Regions from separate parts of the Homo sapiens genome. Here region 1 is linked to region 2. Evidence: promoter capture Hi-C in 16 types of primary human blood cells and fetal thymus (Javierre and others, 2016). All regions are on one chromosome and are shown on one strand. The core of a region is centred on a gene start or on the middle of the fragment in contact, and the rest is flanking DNA. Distances in the headings are between cores, read along the strand shown.

Evidence for each region. Contacts are between HindIII fragments. The CHiCAGO score rates a contact against its expected background, and 5 or more counts as called.
Region 1: a contact is called between a fragment that was not itself captured here and the fragment with the promoter of VPS33B in region 2, in 1 of 17 cell types (total B cells). The highest score is 5.9, in total B cells.

What each region holds. Positions count from the first base shown.
Region 1 is chr15:90,436,484-90,440,316 of GRCh38, reverse strand. IQGAP1 (IQ motif containing GTPase activating protein 1) reads right to left here. Exons shown (of 38, transcript NM_003870.4): 6 at 918-985. Among named protein-coding and RNA genes, the nearest start is that of IQGAP1, 50 kb to the right of the region's middle. RefSeq lists a silencer at 3,053-3,253. The HindIII fragment of the contact is 189 bases long and covers 1,686-1,874 here.
Region 2 is chr15:91,020,489-91,023,933 of GRCh38, reverse strand. VPS33B (VPS33B late endosome and lysosome associated) reads left to right here and starts at 1,340. Exons shown (of 23, transcript NM_018668.5): 1 at 1,340-1,780. The coding sequence starts at 1,685. It overlaps VPS33B-DT (VPS33B divergent transcript), which reads right to left and starts at 1,312. Exons shown (of 4, transcript NR_110104.1): 1 at 1,194-1,312; 2 at 1-621. RefSeq lists enhancers at 1,376-1,785, 1,640-2,256. The HindIII fragment of the contact is 24,262 bases long and covers 1-3,445 here.

The DNA.
Region 1 (3,833 bases), core at 531-3,030, 580 kb after region 2:
AACGTTATTATTATCAAGGGCATCAAAAATAACTATAAAGTGAGAAGGTCCTACAGGAAATAGTTTTTCAAAATTGCTACTTATGGCATTTCCTACAATGAACTTATAAATGGAACAGCTTTAACGTGAGCTCAACAATAAGTGAATCACAAACTAAGTCAGTTATCTCAGTCTTTACAATCATTAGCTGCTATTCAACAATTTCATTTCTAAGGCAGAAAGCCAAATGATAAAGAAAACATGTAAGGTCTGGTCCTTTCCCCAGGTCTGGTGAATAACTTCCCTGGAAGGAAAAAATATCATGGACAAAAACTTTCTTACCAATTTTTAAACTTTCAAGCCTACAAAATAATCACCACTTTGAAAGACTTGAATCTATCTTACCCTTAAACAGTATTACCACTGCCCTTTTTCTCCCCAACCCCTCATCTCTTCAAGCATCTGGCTATAGCAAATACACATAGAAACACCCACCCAAATAAGCTTAAATTTTAAAATTACTAAATTGGCATCTTTGTGTCATCTCACTCCCCACTCTCCCTCTTGCTTTGCCCACAACAGATGCTTGCTGGAATGGAAAGGGAAAGATAGTTATAAAGCTTTTTTCAACATACCCGAACATTTAGTGTTATGTGTTAACATTATTATGTTTTATATATGTTAATGTTATCCCCAATTTACATATAAGAAAACTGAGACTCACTAATCATGTTCACATTATTAAGTGAGAGAACAGAGCTTGAAATTTCAAGTTTAGTGTTCTTTACCCCACATTAGAGAAGCAAGTTATTCGTATTTTTTTCACCTCCACTGCCAGTGTATTTTTAAAGCCCTAGGTCTTCAAAATTGGTACTGCTGGCTCTCCAGGCTATTTCCACATAATTCAAGCATTTCCTGCCAAGTATCTAACTCCTTACCTGTGAAGTCAACCTTTCCATATAGGTCTTGAATCTGAGGGGCCAGGCCTAGCTTGAACAGGTACAAACTAGAAGATACAATATGCAAAAGGTTAGGCCTCCCAGCTGTGCCTAGCTGCCACCCTTAAAAGGCGAAAATCAGCATGAAGTATAAAATAGAAGTATTCTGAACACTGAGACTCCCAGTACCTACGACAGTCTCCTTTGTAGTTACAATACGCTATTTACCTCAGTTTTTTTTTTTTAGTTTACATGACAACATTGTCCTAAAAAGTCACATAACACAATGCAAAGAGCACTGGACTGGGAGAAATCAGTAGGCACAAATTAAAGTCCCGGTTCTGGCACAAACTCAATGCATAATTAGATGTTAATGGCCAGGCACAGTGGCTCATGCCTGTAATCCCAGCACTTTGGGAGGCTGAGGTGGGCGGATCACCTGACATCAGGAGCTTGAGACCAGCCTGGCCAACATGACAAAACCCTGTCTCTACTAAAAATACAAAAATTAGCCAGGCGTGGTGGCATGTGCCTGTAATCCCAGCTATTCAGGAGGCTGAGGCAGGAGAATTGCTTGAACCTGGGAGGCAAAGGCTGCAGTGAGCCGAGATCACACCACTGTACTCCAGCCTGGGCAACAGTGTGAGATTCCGTTTCAAAAAAAAAAAAGATGTTAACATTAATGTTAATATAATGTGAAGTGTCTCTTCATTTGTTTGCCTTCCTGTAATCAATAAGTTTTAAATAATAAGACATTTTAGAAAAGCTTCATAAAAATGATTCAGATGGCAAATCTTACTTAAACTGAATTCATATTACTGATGGAAAAGTTTAATCCAGGTAATTTAACAGTTTTAGATAAAGAATATTTCATATATTTTTACTTTTTAATTATCAGGTTGGTGAAAATTATTTTTACTTTTTAAACTTAAAAAAAAATCAACTAGACTCTAAGCTTCATGAAAGCAGGGACAATACAGGGCTCATTCACTAATGTTTACCCAGAGCCTAGCATATATTAATAAACATTAATCAATATTTGACAGATGGATGGACGGATAAATTAATGTCCATAAGCCTGTGTTATTAAGTGGATTCTAAAGCCCTAACTGATCAGAATCAATAAATTAGAAGAGATCAGAAGGGTACTTTACAGATACTGACAAAAGCAAGATATTGACAGTTTAAAGTAAGCAGGGAAATAAGAAATATATAAGAAATAAATCATAGAAACTTAAAGTGGTATACAGTTTTTGTAAATAATCTATAAACCTCAATATCATCTAAATACAAACACGCATCATGTACACTGCAATCACAGAACTGATCAAAATTTAAATTGTATATAATAAACCCAAATGTATAATAGAAAAACAAAAATCAAGTATTCTCAAAACACACTAGAATTTATACATCCACAGAAGCTAAACATTTTCTCAGAGAAGTGCAAGTATAAGTCATGTGTATATGATTAAATGCTTTTCTTTCAGGTAAAAGACTCAAGATGGATATATAAAGCGCCTGTCTCAGAAGATTTTAAATGTATTCAAAAAATTCTCCAGACTGGGTGTAGTGGCTCACACCTGTAATTCCAGTACTTTGAGAAAGAGAGGCAGGAGGATAGCTTGAGGTCAGGAATTCAAAACAGCTTGAGCAACATAGCAAGACTTGTCTCTACAAAAAAAATTTCTTAATTAGCCAGGTATGGTGGTGCATGCCTGTAGTCCTAGCCATTTGGGAGGCTAAGGCAGGAGGATAGCTTGTGCCTGGGAGGTTGTTACAATGAGTCAAGATCACACCTCTGCGTTCCAGCCTAGGCAAAAGAGTAAGACCCTGCCTCTTTAAAAAAGAAATTCCAAAGCAAAATAACTAATAACTTTCTATATATTTTTATACATTTTTATATATTTTTTATATATTTTTCTCACTAATACATCACATCTGCATTCTTAATTAAGAGAATATTTTTCTCCAAGAATTTCTTTCTCATTTATTCCTACTTGGAAATAGCGAACAAGAAATTTTAAGAAAGTTCAAGAATGTTGCTGATATGGTTTGGGTCTGTGTCCCTGTCCAAATCTCATGTCAAATTGTAATCCCCAGGTGGGGGCCTGGTGAGAGGTGATTGGATCAATGGGGGCAGGTTTCCCCCTTGGTGCTGTTCTCCTAACAGTGAGTGAGTTATCGCTAGATTTGGTTTTTTAAAAGTATGTAAGCACCTCCCCACCTCTCTCTTCCTCTTGTTCCTGCCACGTGAGACGTGACTGCTTCCTCTTTGTCTTCTACCATGATTGTAAGTTTCCTGAGGAGGTCTCCCCAGCCATGCTTCTTGTACAGGCTGTGGAACCTTAAGCCAGTTAAACCTCTTTTCTTTATGAATTACCCAGTCTCAGGTATTTCTTTATAGCAGTACAAGAACGGACTAATACAGTTGCTTTCACAGTACCAGGAACACTGACTTAGCTTTTAATGTCTTTCAGTGGTAAATTAAAGGTGCTACAACCGTATCACTGGCTAATATAAAAAGTAGACATGGGCACCATCTTTCTTTTAACTCTCTTTAATTATTACGAGTATTTTATGGAGACACTGGAGCTATGAAAGGATTCAAAACGGCCAGTTAAGTCCTCTTACCCACAATCAAAAGTACTTAGCTTCACACTGAAACTTATAAACCCTAATGGTGAACAGCACTTTCCAATCTTTGCTCCTGCTCTCCCATGCCTACTTCTACAAATATACTGTTAGGCACTATAATGCGTCAGCCTGTAACTGCACTTAGATTTATTTTTCTTATTTCCTACTTAAGCTGTACTTTGTAGCAATGGGCAGAAGGAAGCTATGTTAATCTATCTGGATTCTAATTATCTTTTCTGTGAATGGTGAGTAACCTAGAAGTCACTATGCCAATCTCAA
Region 2 (3,445 bases), core at 91-2,590:
CGCACTGCAGCCTCAAACTCCTGGGCTCAAGTGATCCTCCTGCCTCAGCCTCCCAAGTATCGAGATTAAAGGTGCCCACCACCATGCCTGGCTATTTTTTATGTGTTGTAGTTGACCAATCTTATCTCAAACTCCTGGCCTCAAGCAACCCCCCGACCCCGACCTGGACCTCCCAAAGTGGTGGGAATTAGAGACATGAACCATTACTCCTGGCCAAATTATTTCACCTGTAAAAACTTCAGTATGTATCTCAAAGAGATAAGGACTTGTTTTTAACAGAAATACAAGCCTGTATGACATAGAAATACAAAAAATAATAATAACATAGAAATACAATACCTGGCCCAACGTTGTGGCTCACGCCTGTAATCCCAGCACTTTGGGAGGCCAAGGCAGGCGGATCACTTGAGGTCAGGAGTTCGAGATCAGCCTGGCCAACATAATGAAACCCCGTCTCTACCAAAAATACAAAAATTAGCCGGGCATGGTGGCACTCGCCTGTAATCCCAGTCTACTCGGGAGACTGAGGCAGGAGAATCTCTTGAACCTGGGGCGGCAGGGGGGTTGTGGCGCGGAGCTTGCAGTGAGCCGAGCTCCTCCACTAGGCAAAAGGGCGAGACTCTGTCAGGAAAAAAAAGAGAAGAAAAGAAATACAATACCCGAAAAGTTTTAGTAATTCCTTAAATCAGTTATCTTTGAATTATTATCCAAAAAAGATCCACACATTGAAACATTTTGTTGATACATCTCTTAAATCTCTTTTATTCTGAAGTGTTTTCCCCTCCCACATTTCCCACTTTGCCATTTTTTTGAAGACGACAGATCATTTGTCCCATATAATTTCCTACATTTTGGATATGGTTGATTTCATACCTTTGGTGTCTTAACATATTCCTGCTAATCTCTATATAGCCTATAAACTGGTAGTTAGATCTTGAGGCTTGATTAGGTTCAATTTTTGGCAATAGGTGATGCTCTGTATTTCCTATGCATCTCACCAGGAAATGATATGATGGTATGATTGATCAGAGTTGAGGTATTGTTAGCTAGCCTGATGCATTCATTATGTCTTTTTTTTTTTTTTTTTTTTTTTTTTTGAGGCAAGGTCTAGCTTTGTTGCCCAGGCTGGGGTGCAGTAGCGCGATCGCAGTTCACTGCAACCTCCGCCTCCCTGACTCGAGCGATTCTCCCACCTCAGCCTCTGGAGTGCTGCGACCCCAGGCGCCGCCACCTAATTAATAGACGCGTTGCCTCCGTTTTTCAAATGTCCCTTTCAGGACGCCGTCCCCTTCCTGGTACGCGAAGCGCTGGGAGCGAAAGGGACTTCCGGGAGATCTAGGAAGTCGCTTCTTTTTCTGGTAGAAGGCGGGGTTCTCCTCGTACGCTGCGGAGTCTCTGCGGGGTGTAGACCGGAATCCTGCTGACGGGCAGAGTGGATCAGGGAGGGAGGGTCGAGACACGGTGGCTGCAGGTCTGAGACAAGGCTGCTCCGAGGTAGTAGCTCTCTTGCCTGGAGGTGGCCATTCATTCCTGGAGTGCTGCTGAGGAGCGAGGGCCCATCTGGGGTCTCTGGAAGTCGGTGCCCAGGCCTGAAGGATAGCCCCCCTTGCGCTTCCCTGGGCTGCGGCCGGCCTTCTCAGAACGAAGGGCGTCCTTCCACCCCGCGGCGCAGGTGACCGCTGCCATGGCTTTTCCCCATCGGCCGGACGCCCCTGAGCTGCCTGACTTCTCCATGCTGAAGAGGCTGGCTCGAGACCAGCTCATCTATCTGCTGGAGCAGGTCAGTGCTTGCCTGACGCCTTTATCGCATCTACAGTTTAGCACTCATTGGATGCACATTTCTTCCTTGCCGTGCCCCTTTGATCTTGTTCTTGGCCCCTGGTATTGTCCTTGGCGCTTCCCCAGCAGGTCCAGAATGAATCCAGGGAGTAGTAAGAGCTGTTTGGAACCTGGCCAGAGAGTTAATGGAAATCACCCCCCAACCCCGCATACAGGCAAGGGAGACACCATTAGTGCCAGGCATCCCTAGGGACGGAAAGATGGTTAAGACATCTTTGCCATTAGGGATCTTACCACTCCAGTAGGAGCTGTATGAAGCACAAATTATCACACACAGGTGGTAAATGAGTGATAGAGCTAGTGTACCCGAAGAGTTCACAGTAAGTGATCATTTCTAGTTGGGGTGATGATCTAGGAGCTTCAAGGAAGTGAGTGTGAGTAATAAGCATATTTTCTTTGGAGACTAAGCATGCTCCAGGCAGATAGATTGGTAGGAGCAAAGTTGGCAAACCAGGGAAAGACAAGGCATGTAAGGGAAGACACCCATCAGCAGTTACACAGTAGCCACTGAAAAAAATTTTTTTTCCATTTGTGGCATGAGACAATACTTGATGATTCTAATAGTGATGTGTGTGGTGGCGTAAATGGGCAACAAGAAGGCCAGTTAGGAGACCGTAGATCAGACAAGAAATAAAGGCCCACACAAAATTGGTAGCAGTGGGAATGAAGGAAAGTGATGGATTTTTAAGTTATGGTGAAAGAAAACTCAAAGACTTACTGATTGGTTATAAATGTTGAAGGAGAAGCAAAAATGAGTGAGATTTTTAACCTGGGTTATTAGGAAAATAATACTGCCACTGTGATTTTAATGGATTACTTGTGTAATCATTTAGTTATTCATTTTATGTCTGTATTCCTCATTAGACTGGAAGGTGGGCAGGGATCATGTTTGTTTTGTTCAACACTACCTAGTGAGTACCTAGCTTAGAGTCAAGCACACACCATGTGCTTAATAAATATTTGTTGTATTAACATTGAATAGAAATGAGAAAAATAATTAGAAAAAGGAACAGGTTTGATGGGGGAAGTTGATTTGTTTGGGTTTGGATGGGGGAAGTTAAGATGCCCGTAAGAAATATAGCTTGTAACATCCAGCAGATAGAAATGTAGAACTGCAGCTGCATTGTGAGGACTGGAAGGAAGATGGATCAAGATGAGAACTGCAGGGCATCTTAGACCAGATTTTATTTCTATTTTATTTTATTTATTTTTTTGAGACACAGTCTCACTCCGTTGCCCAGGCTGGAGTGCAGTGGCGCGATCTTGGCTAACTGCAACCTCCACCTCCCGGGTTCAGGCGATTCTTCTGCCTCAGCCTCCCCAGTAGTTGGGATTACAGGCGCACGCTAGCCCACCTGGCTAATGTTTGTATTTTTAGTAGAGATAGGGTTTCACCATGTTGGCCAGGCTGGTCTCAAACTCCTGACCTCAGGTAATCTGCCCGTCCCAGCCTCCCAAAGTGCTGGGATTATAGGCTTGAGCTACCACTCCCGGCTTCTTTCTCTTTAATACTTAGTGCTTGCACAGTGACATGCACATAAAAGACTTGCAACAATGTCTGAAGAATTTAAAAGAGGTGCTAGTTAAAGCCACTAGTTCAGGTGAG